Linked DNA regions of Homo sapiens: region 2 is linked to region 1. Evidence: promoter capture Hi-C in human tissues and cell types (Jung and others, 2019). All regions are on one chromosome and are shown on one strand. The core of a region is centred on a gene start or on the middle of the fragment in contact, and the rest is flanking DNA. Distances in the headings are between cores, read along the strand shown. Region 1 holds the start of SMAD9 (SMAD family member 9). Region 2 overlaps SPART (spartin).

The links. Contacts are between HindIII fragments. The study calls those that stand out against the background at their distance.
Region 2: a contact is called between a fragment that was not itself captured here and the fragment with the promoter of SMAD9 in region 1, in 1 of the 25 tissues and cell types used here (dorsolateral prefrontal cortex).

Annotation. Positions count from the first base shown.
Region 1 is chr13:36,917,335-36,924,097 of GRCh38, forward strand. It overlaps SMAD9 (SMAD family member 9), which reads right to left and starts at 2,904. Exons shown (of 7, transcript NM_001127217.3): 1 at 2,782-2,904. It also overlaps the pseudogene LAMTOR3P1. RefSeq lists silencers at 2,815-2,884, 2,995-3,044. The HindIII fragment of the contact is 20,741 bases long and covers 1-6,763 here.
Region 2 is chr13:36,328,819-36,335,581 of GRCh38, forward strand. It overlaps SPART (spartin), which reads right to left. Exons shown (of 9, transcript NM_015087.5): 2 at 6,203-6,763; 3 at 2,581-2,778; 4 at 544-699. Among named protein-coding and RNA genes, the nearest start is that of SPART, 14 kb to the right of the region's middle. The HindIII fragment of the contact is 8,496 bases long and covers 1-6,572 here.

The DNA.
Region 1 (6,763 bases), core at 1,654-4,153:
GATAACATGAAACATTGTGAAAATGCTCACAGTATTGTTAAGTACTTATGCATTTACTGTTTGCATTTTTTTTTTTTGCTTTAGAATAACTTTTCAACCCACTAGCAACAGTAACCAAGGAAATATAAATCCAACAGCCTAGAATTACAACTATTTGAGAAGATTCATGGTTTCAACGTACTGCTATATTTACTGTTTCATTCTGGACAGTTTCCCGTTTCTTTAACTCCTCTCTAAGTGTCCAAAACAATATACAGAAAGTCTGCACTAAGCTTCGTTAAAGCTTTAAAATTTAGCATAGTATGTCTGGCAAATCAGAAAAACCACATATTTGTCATAACCTTTACCTTCCCTAAAATCAGAGTACATCCTGTGGATAAGGATTATTTCCCACATATTAAAGCAGAACATGATGAAACTGCTGTCCTATTTATTACAGAGGGAATGTCAGATATAAAGTAGTTACCTTAATCCTACGGTGCTCACTTACGAAACACCATCCCTCCAGTTTGGCAATGCATAGTGCACTCTCATTAATCAGAATTAAACTATTTGGAAAACATATTGAGTATTTTCATATTGACATTGAATATTTTCATCTTTATGAAACAATTTCTGGACAGACTTTTTTCCCTCCAACTGACCACATGATTAGTAAAGATAGTGTACCACTTGTTTATTACTTATGGATATCTTTAGTAATGTTTCATTTAAAAAACAAAACAAAACTCTTCTTTCTCATCCATGTCTTGGGCAATCACAGATGCAAGAGTTGACATCTGTGAATATTTTCTGATTACTTACTAACTAGGAATATATAAGTTAAAAAAATTTTTTAAAGGAGAAAAGCCAAATAGTTCATGTTGACTTTGAAAGACTGATGACAATGATGTGGCAATTCTAAAGTACTTAGAGGTTTAACCCAAAATTTGTTTACGTCTTTGATTTTTAGTAAACACTGCACTGATAAACATGAGTTTGTTCAGATCAAGAGTATGTTGGCATTCTCTTAAGCATAGTTTGAAACCAGAGAGCTCAAGCATAAAACAGCTCTGACAAAGATAACCAGTCAAGCATAAAAATGGGAGTTGGTTGTGTCAGAATACATTAAGAGGCCGAAGGCTGTCTGGCAGACAGCTGTCTTGCCATCACTGAAGGTGACTATTACCACTAAAAGTTGTTTTTCGGATACAGTACTTGAAATTGCTGTCATCTTGTATTTAAAATGCTCCTTATTTATAAAGCGTCACATCCTTTTCTTATCTGAAGCCTCCTTCTTGGATAACCACAAACCTAAAAGCAGTCTAAAATTGTGCTGATGCTTTCCTACAAGCACAGGGAAACTCTTATATTGAATCTTTGTCTATTTGGAGTTGAGAATGTCTTTGGCTTTTATTTTAAATGCCTTCTTAAATATAGATCACTATTTTTAAAATGTAAACATCCAAAGGCATTCCCTCACACTTGGAGGAATGCTAAGGCAGGAGACATGCTTGTAGTAGTCACATTTCACTTTCCCAGACGGGTGCCACAAACGTTCCGCTCAGTTACTGCTTAGGAGGCAGCATTATTAAATGCCTCACGACTTAACGGTCAGCCTCCATGCTTCTTGCTAACCTACATTTCCAAAAGATCATCCGAGAAATCTGGCAAGCCACCGAAATGGTACTAGTAAACTGGATCCATCCAAAGCACTCCACAGTGCCCTGTGGGTGTGTTTCTCACTGTAAACTACTGGGTAAAGAATTTACATACAATTTTATCTCCAAACTCGATTTGTATCCTTTGTAGGTTAGTTCTCAGGAGTACCCACTCCAGCCCAGAAATAAGTCAACGTAGTATTTCCAAACTATCACTTCAAATGTCCACGGTCAAGGGCAGGAGGAGGAAGGAATAGTAACGGGAAAACTTGTCAGCGATTAGCCATCCATAAAAATGTTCTCCCAGCGCTCCTCCTTCCGATCACAAAGCTGGCGTCAGGCAGTCTCCTGTATCTGCTTCCCACCTCGCCCCCTCCCCTCTGCGGAGAGCTGGCACCGAGGGGCGGGCCAAGGAAAAGACAAACACCCCGGCTCCGACACAGTCCAAGCGCGAGCCCGGAGACACTTCAACAACATTCCTAACTTTTTTTCTCAGTTCGCATGCCTCAAAGGTAAACAAAGCAAAAAGCCTACGAAACAGAAGGCAAGTGAGGCCAATTCGGCGCTGGCGAGTTTAAAAGTGGCCCCCAAAGAGTCACAATGACGACCCCCGCCGCCCCCTCTGTCCGCTGTCCCCTATCTCCAGCTACAGCAAGCGACCCCTCAGGCGCCTATCCTGGTCCCTGCCCACGCCCCGGGCCCCAGCCCCGACCCGACCGCCGCCCCCGCCGCGGGTCGAACATCCCCTGACAGGTCCCGGGGCCCGCGGCGCGGGCGGATGCAGGCGCGAGGAAGGCGAGCTGCGCCGCGGCCAACTCCCCAGAGCAGTCCCCTCCGGCCCCGCGCCCACCCCACCCCACCCCACTCCACCCCAGACAGGCTCCACCAAAAAACCCGGGAACAACGACCGCCAAAAGCCAAGCCTCACGCCGAGGAGCCTCCCAGGCTGCCCCGAGGACGAACAACTTCGCCCTCCACTCAATGCGCTCACACGCACGCACACAAGCAGCGCGCGGCCGAGGAGGGCACGTCTTACCTGTCCCCGCCGTGCCACTCATCCCTCCCCCACCCAGGTCCGGCGCCCCCAACCCCGCCCCCGCCGTGGTCCCCCGGCCGCCCGCTCCGAGCGCCGCGCACTCACTGCCTGGCTGCGCGCGCCCAGCGCCTGCAGGGCCCGGCGGCGGCGGCGGGGACCGAGACAGCGGCTGCAGCAGCGGCGGCGGCGGCGGCGGCGGCGGCGGCCCCAGCCGGCGTCAGTCAGACTGGAGCCGCGAAGCCTCATCGCCCGTATTAGTGCGCCGACCTGGAAAGCGGCCAGGGAGCCCTGCTTGCGGCCCGCCCCCGCCCGCCGCCGCGCGCTCTGGCCGCTCCGGGAGCCGCAGAGGAGGGGGCTGCGCGGGCCCGGCGGGGGGCGGGAGCGAGACCGGCCCCACGGCCACGTGCGCGGAAACTCGCGGCGCGGGGGTGGCGGGGTAGTACTCCTCGCAGCGGCCTGCGGCTCGGTTCCCGCCTCTTCCCCACCCCCAGCCCCGCGCTGCCCTCTCGGTCCCCCTGCGCGACCCCAGGCTCGGCCCCTGCCCGGCCTGCCGGGGTGGCCCGGGGGTGGGGTGGGAGCCCTTTGTCTGCGTGGGTCGCCTCGCGTCTCTCTCTCCCACCCCACCTCTGAGATTTCTTGCCAGCACCTGGAGCCCGAAACCAGAAGAGTTGTCAGCCCAACAAGAATATAGGATCACCGGCCCATCAGTCTGGAGACCCTTCTGAGCTGCTGTTCCTCACATGTTTCTGGGCCCTGATAGTGACTCTCACTTGCCCTGTTTGTTCCTGATTTGCTTTTCGGAGTAAGGGGATCCTGTCCCCATGGACAGTGACAGAGCAACTGGGCCGCAATGGCATAGGCAGAAGAAAATCTAATCACTCTGGGGGTGAGTGGTGGTTAAAACGACTCATGTAATTATGTGGATTGTAATTTCCTTACACATATTTATTTGCTTAACAACCCAGCATGTGAGATATATTATCTAATCTAATAAAAGATACAAACTTATGGGCACACAGCAATGTTACTGTACAACTTTCTCGTCTCACGGCCTGGCTGTCCCCCAGGTAGCCTGCCTCTTAAAGTCACTGTGGACTCCTGGAACCCACTCAGAAACGCCACTTAGGAAGAACCACCTCTGATTCCCCATCAGCCCGTAGTTCCTCACAGAAAAGGCATTTGCTGCAGGGGTGAACGTGGAATAAAGCCACAGGGCAGTTTTCAGCTTGCTCCTGTGTGCAGGAAAGTCATACCTCCAGTTGGCCCCGATGGCGGCTCCGAAATGTAAAGCAAGGCCTTAAATTTAACTGCTTTTTCTAGTTCTCAAAGCACTGCACTTTCTTCATGGCAGATGCTATTTTTGCATTATTATACCGTTGTAGTTGAACGGTGATTTGTTTAAAACAACATTTGCAGCAGAACCTTAAATACCATGCCTTAACCTCAAAGTCTTCTTTCTACACTGGCCCAGATACCTCTGCACCCGGCTATGTGTTGGGTTTGAGATTGTCCTGGGTGAGAAACACCAGGAAACAGCGGGACCGGTAAGGGCTACAGATTATATATTAAGGATTAGGCTGGATGTGGACTTTATTGCCAGTAAACTAATTAGGTCCTCAGAATTGATACCTTGTGGCTCAAGTTTTTAAAAATTAAATTAAGAAAAGAAATGGCCCAATCACTATCTCAGTTTCCTTCTCGTATATGAGCATAATGCAGAGGACAAGATGCAGAGAAAGAAATTATAACCTCTGCAGCGCTGGCTCATGCTTCTGGCATGGAGTCTTTCTCAGTTCGCAGAATTCTCTTGACTCTTGGCAGGCCTTTGATTTAGAGTATGTCTAGTCTGCTCTTTTCTGTACGTTCTCATTTACATACCAGGATATTTCTGCACGATGATGACTTTTTCCTGCCTAAACATTAGTCTGTCACTGATATAATTCCTATCATGTATTCCTCAAGGCTAGTATAGAAAGTTAATCCATTACGCTCAAGAACAATAAGATCTGGTGAGTTCCAAGAAGGAGAAAATGCTTGGCCTAAGACAGAAGGCGCAGTGTTGACACTCCATTTTACAGAAGCTGACTGTCCTGGTTAATGGAAAGCTAGACTTCGCTTTATCTTTCCCAGTGATTTCTTGATTGGCTGTGGTTTTACTGCTTAATAGAACTTCCACCAAAACATTCTGTTATGGGAATCATATGAAAGGAGAGACTCAGAGGTTGTGATTTGGTAGAACCGCCAGTGAAATTTTGGTTCAGGACCTCAAAACCACGGCAAAACTGAAATCTGTTTTCTGAAAGATGATAAGGTCTTGGCCTAACACGAACTCCCTCAGGCTATAAAACAGTGGTAGGAAGGGCAGCTTCCTTACCCCAAGAGAGAGCCAATTCTTTGCATTTGCCATATACCCAGCATAAAACCAGACTGTGGTCTTTGAAGCTGTTCCTGAAGTGACAGTGGAGAGAACCGGGCAGCCCAGAAACCCCAGGCAAGGAGATTGATCCTGCAAGAGAAGGGGGTTCATCATGGCGGATGACCTAAAGCGATTCATGTATCAAATGTTACAAAGTGTTGAAGGGCTCCATGCTATTGTTGTGTCAGAGTTGGAGTACCTGTTATTAAAGTGGCCATTGATAATGCTCCAGAGCATGCTTTGAGACCTGGTTTCTTACCTACTTTTGCCCTTGCAACAGACCACGGGAGCAAACTTGGACTTTCAAAAAATAAAAGTATCATCTGTTACTGTTACACCTACCTGGTGATTCAGTTAAATCATTTACCTTTGGTGGTGAGTTTCATAGCCAGCAGCAATGCCAATACAGAACTAATTGTCAGCCTAGAAAAGAAACTTACTCCATTATTTGAAGAATTGAGACAAGTTGTGGAAGTTTCTTAATCAGACAGTGGTTTCAATGTGTACCTTATCTTTATTATAACAACACAATATCGATCCAGCAATCTTTAGACCATAATACTTTTATCCATGTCCTCAAGAAAGGGCCTCTTTTTCCAACTTATACTGAAGAGCAAGCATATAGATAAAATTTATGGACGGATTGATTGTTATATTTTCTGGTGTAGGGTCTTTTCTTATTTAGTGAGATCTGGGGATACCACAAAAATAGTTCAGTCTGTCACAGCACCCATGGAGTTAGTCCAGCCACCAAATATGGATGAGATTCTATTCCGTGGATCAGAATCAAACTGGTACATTGATCCATTTGAGCCATTAAGTGCTCTCTATTGTACAATCTGCCCAGGCCTGCAGAATGAAGCAGATTTTTTATTGCGAATAATAATGAGATATTTTTCTTCAGATTATGTTTTATTTCTTCTCATTGAGTGTGAGGAACATAAAATGGCTTAGTAAAAGCAATAAAATCAGTACAGTCACTAGCTTTCCTTTGTACTTATTACTTTATGATATAGATGAATATTACTGATTGGTTTGATTCTTCTCAGAGGGTGCTGCTCTTTAATGAAAATAAAAATTATAGCTAATGGTTTTTCCTCAAACTCTGCTTTCTATAACTAATCAGTGTTTTAATGTTTGTGTGTTCTTTATAAAATTTAAATGTAATTGGTTACTGAATTCTGTTTCCAATATTAGTATTATGTAAACATGATAGTATAACCATTTTTTCATGTGAGTATACATAAAATAGTATTAAAAAATAAAAAAATAACAGATTGTAACAAAGTCTGTAGTCATCCATGGATGCAAAGATTCTGCTTTGTACGTCTCTTGTACCTTAAGTTTGAGCTAGCATGATAATGGTTCCACTCAGAGTAATAACTAGGAATCATAGCCTCCACACTCCTCCCACCTCAAGTCTCCTTTCTAAATTTTATCTGTAACTCTGTCCTGATGCTGCAGTTTTTCTGCCTCCCATTCGGACTTTCCTTGAAAGTCATCTTTCATTCCATAATCACTATTGAATGCTTTCCTAAGTACCAGGCACCCGAATTAACTATATGAACACAGAGCACTGGCCCTTAGTAAAGGCAGCCTAAGAGAGAGATACATCTACCAACGATTATCACACAACTTTGTGTGTCACCGTAGGGGAGTGGGCACAGGGAG
Region 2 (6,763 bases), core at 1,075-3,574, 590 kb before region 1:
AAATGGCAGTGTAAGAAAAAAAAAGACAGTAGCATATCTAGCCCCCAAGCTCTTAGTGAATATAGGAAGGCAGAGAATAACACAAAACAAATAAGAAAGTATGTGCATCACTAATGCAAATATAAAAATATCTTGGCCAGGTATGGTGGCTCATGTCTGTAATGCTGGCTACTCGTGGAGCGTGAGGCAGGAGGATCACATGAGCCTGGGAGGTCAAGGCTGCAGTGAGCCATGTTTGCACCACTGCACTCCAGCCTGGGTGACAAGGCAGGATCCTGTCTCAAAAAAAATAAAATCTCTCAAACAGTTGGGAAAAAAATCTATCCCCCAAACACAGAGTATCTTTTAAAATAGTTTAAGTAACACACACTTTAAAAGGGAAATACTACAACTGATTCTAATTGTTTTTGCCAGTGATCACTTTGTTGACTAATGCACAAGTTGCTTTGCTTTAGTATATGGGAATATGATCATATAAATACATGAAACTGGAGAAAGGTACCATTAGAAGACAACACACACACTTATTACTCTTTTATTTACCCTTTTTCCACGTTTTCCTTTATGACGTACATCCTTATTGCCTTGGTCCAACTGTTTCACATCAGTGCCAGAGGCTTCTTTTAGTTGGTCAGAGGAGGGTCTAGTTCTTCCAGGGATTTGGAATTCATTTTCTTCTTCTGCTCTGTTCCAGTTGGCCTAGAGAATAAAGGTTTAAGCTTAACTCTAATCAGAATTTTTCTTAGATGGCTTTCTGCCAGCTATATTACACCATGCTCAAATGACATACTTGTTTGAATGTCAGTTTGGCAGTCTATCAGTAACAACTACTTTTGCTTTTTTCTCTACGATTCTCTTTTGTTTCATCACCAAACCCCAAACCTCTGAGTTCTTTGGTTCATAGCATATGCCTAAGTAAGTTTCAAAAGACAACGTGTAAAAGACAACTTATAGCAGTTGTTGGTATAAGTTATCTTTGAATCAGATGCAGCTACATTTAAATTTAATTAATGAATAAATTTTAGTTAACATGTACAAGAGAAAGTGAATTTAAAGGCAATTAACAAAACTCATGTCCATTTCATTATGCATTATTGGAAGGTTTATTTTTTAATTTTCTGCACAATATACACTTTGCTGAATGAATGCTTAAGAGTAAAAACCAGTCAAAATTATAGCTAGTAACTAGCTTATGTTTACAGTTGAAGTTCTGGGACAGTAAAGCAAGCTAAAAATAACATACAAATACCAAAAAATTAAATTGAAGACAGAAAATAAACATACAACCTAAAAGTCTGCTTAGTTTCTTTCCTAAAGCCCAGTAATACAGGTCCAGTTAACGTAGGGGTGAAGGGAGAAATAGTTCCACATTAGGTCTGTGAATACTTAAGAGCATCATTTCACTCAGTAAACAGTGAAGTGAAGATGAACTCCTTCATTTGACCATATTCCTGCCTTTGTGAATTCCTCCTCACAAGTACAATGAGGCTACACACTTCTGTATGCTGATCATGTATTTTGTTAAATAATTGCTGCTATGCTAAAGTATTGGTTTGTTGACCACCAGGTAGGTCATTCTCGGGTGAACAGGGGCTGATTTTATATTTTCATACACACACACACACACACACACACATCCCCCACACCTTCGTGGTCTCCTGTTCTCATACTTTGCCCATCCCATCACTTAACACAGTAACTGGTTAAATAATGAATTCCAAGTATCTGCTGATTGAAGGAGAGAATAAAAGATTATACTATTATAATGCCCACCTCATTCAACCCCTGATGACTGTCAATATTCATAATCAAAAATACTTTTTCCCTCTTGCTACAACAATATATAAAGAAAGTCTCTCCATAATACTCTATTCAAGTTCCCTGTTAAACAGAAATACTCTATTTCTACAGGTACGCATGTGGGCAGAGGAAACATGCCAAATAAGGAAAGTTCCAGGATGATCATATTTTAAATCATATTTTCTTTTTATTTTTTTATTTGGCCTTCATTTACCACAAGAACAAAGATAATTATCTCAACCAAAGCCTGTTTCTTCCTCAGAATGCCAACCATACCCCTTAAAATGTCCAACATAACCTATCTACTAAAGCTAAAATTATCTTCATGTCACCATTTAGACCCATTAGTACACTTTTCCAGCTGAGCAATAAAACAGTGGTGAAAACAATAGCTAACATTCACAGAGCATAACTACTCGTTCTGATATAAGTGCTTAATGTATTAATTTTTAATTTTCACCACAGCCCAATGAAGTGGACACTGTTATTATCCCCATTTTATAAGTAAATTAAAGTATAGAGAAGATCAGGAACAGCTGAGCTAAACGGTCATTAAGTGGAAGAGTTTGAATTCATATACAGGCAATTTGACTCTAGAGCTCACAATCTTAACCACTATTACAGCAAATTCCAAGCATGTAGTTGTGAACACACAAACAAATGGTGAACTGTCAGTCTCCTAACCTTGATTACAGTAGAGGTTATTACAATTTCTCTAAAAGCTGAAGTGCTTATGTTAAAGTAGATTTTTTTCACCCTAAAGATGATCACACAAGTTACCTGGAGCCGAAGGTCAGACATTTGCCTTAACAGATCCTCAAAGAGCTCTCTATCATCCTCTGGTAACTCAGAGGACAGGACGACCCCCACAAAGCATCCTGCTGCTTGTAGCATTGTATCAGGAAACATGTAGGCTCCCGCAGTACATTTCAGAACCGGAGATCTATCAGGAACTAGAGGATATAACCAGTCACAAACCTGAAAGGATTCATTAGAAGAAAAAAAATATACATATAAATAAATGAAACTAGATTTTCATTTATGTTTTAATAAAATTGTTATACTAGAAAATAAACACTTCAAAGTTGGAAACATATTTTAAAAGGCTTTAAGAAACATCAACATCAACAAATCCCCAAGAAAATTAATCATTTGCTAGTCTGATCTTTCTGCAATAAGGACTGTGCTAAATGTGCCATGGCTCCACTAATTATACAATCTTAAAGCTGATGGCCTTAACTAGCCTAGTGTTAACCAATAATGACTCCAGCTTTAAATAAATAATAATCAAAGTAAATTAAGGTTTTCGTTATTGAAATCAGATATTCCTTTTGTGGTAAATAAACTATTTTCAGATATTATTTACTTGAAATATTTACTGAAATAATAGTATTTACTGATTTAATCCTCCTAACAATCCTATGAAATCAGTTACTATTATTGTCATTTTATGTACAAGAAAATTGAGGCACAGAGAGGTCAATTAAGTCGCCCAGAACCAACAACTAAAAAGTGGAGCTTGGATTTTAACACATATAGTCTGGACCAGAGAAGCTGAACAAGTATTTTAATTAGAAACCCAGCACTCACAGGCCGGGCACAGTGGCTCACACCTATAATCCCAACACTCTGGGAGGCCAAGGAGAGGTGGGGGGATTATTTGAGGTCAGGAGTTCAAGACCTGCCTGGACAACATGGTGAAACCCCCATCTCTACTAAAACTACAAAAATTAGCTGGGGGTGGTAGTGCATGCCTGTAATCCTAGCTCCAGCTCCTTGGGAGGCTGAGGCAGGGGAATCACCTGAACCTGGGAGGTGGAAGTTGCAGTGAGCCAAGATTGTGCCACTGCACTCCAGCCTGGGCAACACAGCAAGACTCTGTCTCAAAGAAAAAATAAATGAATAAATAAGAAATTCAGCACTCACTCACAACATGGAATAATTTTTTGTACTAAACCCAAGAGAACCTGACATAACAGAATAGATTAAGTTAATGTTTATGGATTATCTATCTATTGTGAAATTAAAAGCAAAATAACAAAAGCTCTCCTGCAATGTCATCTGCGGAGGTCGGCTTGCCAGTACATACACAGACATAAGCTCACATCCTGGCTGCCTAATTTATTTCTAATGCAATACATTCTTTGAGAAACCAAAATATAACTGTGCTCAACATCAAAACAGTCTTACCCACAAACTTTTAACATTTGAGTAGTTATTTATTTTAATATGTATGAGAAAAATACATATTTCCCTTAATTTCAGTTATTATTAAGATAAAACTGACAAGTGGGACAATTTAGTAAAAATATAAAGCAAGTAATAGCAGTGGTATAGAGTTGACAAAAAAATTGTAAAAGTTATTCTAAAATAAAACTTAGGAAAGGTTTTTCTTTTTTTTTTCTTTTTTTTAAACTATTCCATGGTTTCTTTCAGATTATCTATATCCTGGTCACCTTAATTGAACTGCAATATCACCAAATTGTCTTTAAAAAAACCAACACTTTATAGACCTTTCCTAGGACAGGATATTACAGATAAGTGAGTCATCCACCATAGGCTGATTTTTCCCAGTTTCATTTTCAGAGGGCAATCTCATGTCCAATTTCTGTAATTATAGATTTAACAGGTTTAAAAAGTATTTGGTATTAAAACTAAAACCAAAAGAAAAATCTTTTTTTGAAGTTCCAGAATTCTATCTACCTAAAACCAAAAAAACTTAATTTCCTATTTAGACCAATAGTGATTTTAACAGTGATTTTTAGCACAGGAAATATCTAACTTCTAGTATTTAGTTGGATTATTATTGTATTTTTTTTTTTTTTTTGGATAAAAACATTCAGTAAACACATATGTTAACTCCTTTTAAGGACACTCTGCTACAAATACCTGAATACAAGCAAATGAGAACCTCTTAAAGAGACTCAAATTAAATTTTGGGTGCAATTTTACTTTTCGTTTAGGACAAAAAATACACATGAGAAAGATTAAAAACAAAATTAAATGCACTAAGGACAAATTTGTATTAAAGTACAAGTCATTTCAATGGATGAGTGAATGTAACCACGGTACAGTATTTCTGCCATTCACTACCCCATCTCCAGTTGCTAAGGACCCAAAGATTTTTTATTCCATCATTACAGTGCAACACTATTAGTAGAAACTGTTATAGCTTTTATCACCCGCCACTACAAACCCCAATCAATAAGCCTACTCTTTGTAACCTTAAGGCTCCTTCCTTAAAATAATCTACAGGATTCACAATATTCTTTCTGTCCAGTATCAAATATTTCCTTTCAATAATGCCCTCAAAGTATCTCCCTCACACATCCCTAGCAAGCCTCGAATTGTCTTTAAACAACTTTCAAGTTGACTTCATATAAAAACTACATAAGAATCAACAGGAGAGAATACCAAAAGAGAAAATGAATAGAGATAAGCTGTGCTATTACTAAACCACATTATTTGGACTGTGGACAAAACATCTGTTTTGCTTAAATAGTGATCTTTCTTCAATGCAAACTCCTTTGTTATATTCAACGTATACTGAGTCCTCATTTCAAGAACTCATCTTCCTATACCTACATCCAATCTTTTAAAACGAGACTGTCACTGGACCACTCTCTTCAGAGTACCTCACTAAATCCACAGCAATGCCCTGACATCAATCTTTATGTAGCACTCTTTACTCTTAGACCAAGTGCATTCTGGTAAATTTCTCTGCTTGGACTGTTGGAATTACATCTTAAATTATCACCACAGTCTCGACTTCTAAACCAAGGTCTCTCAACCTTGGCATAGTTGAGATTTTGGGCAGGATAATTTTTTTTTGTTCATGAGGGCTGTCCTGTGAAAATGTGTGGCAGCATCCGTGGCCTCTATCCACTATGCCAGTAGCAATCAACTTCCAGTATGACAACCAAAAATGCCTCCAGACATTGTCAAATGTTCTCTGGGGAGGCAAAACTACCCTGGGTTGAGAACAACTGTTCTGGACCATGGGCTCGGTCTCTCCCAGTTCAGACCCTCAGCTGAGTCTTGACAACATTTGTGAATATTTACAGCTATACATCCACAGGAATTACATAAATCCCTTTCGAAATTAAACTTATTAGATTTCTTCTTCAGATAAAGAATTAAAAATGTAAGGATGACCACTCTTCTCAAGTTTTATCATCACAAACTTAATACCAAAATAAAACTATTAATATATCTTTTTTAAAAAAAGAAAAAGACAAACACAAACATGTTCAAGGCTCATAATTTCATGGAATATATTTAAAAACAAAGTAGAATTTGTCGTTATCTTTTTGCACTTATACTGGACACATAAACATTAACAAATAAAAATGATGTAGTCTACACGTATTTCAAATTATGCTTTCATTTTTCTTTCGCTTACCTGAAGAAACCCGGGAGGACGGTTTAGAACCGTATCGAGAGAATTATCCAAAAACCTCACAATTCGAAGGTACCCAGGATACGAAGGTGCACTAACCTCCCCTGCAGGATTTACAAAAAAAATCTGTACTCCATTTGGTATCAAAATCAATTCATCTGCATCCAGCCCTAAGGTCTCAAGAGGCGGTGGCTGAGAATGATTCCTATAAAACTCCTCTCCAACTGATGAAAACTCCCCAGAATCTGTTCCATAGGATACAGTGTAGTGACCTTCAGCAGCTTGAGGAGTATAAGCAGGAGGAGCTTCTGCTGGACAACTTTGTGATGGTAAAGACAGAGAAGCAGGTGCAGCAACTGCCCCTGCACTTGGAGTTGAGGTGTTTCCATTTACTTCAGCATGCTGAGGAGCTGAACTAAAAGACTGAGGCTCTGGTAATTTTTCACACATGTCTTTAGGTGGAAATTCTGGATATAACTTGGGCACCTCCTGAAGATCATTCTGCAGAGAAGTGGCAAGACCCTTCTCTAGAATTTCCAGCCTGGTGCGTACATTCTGTAGAGT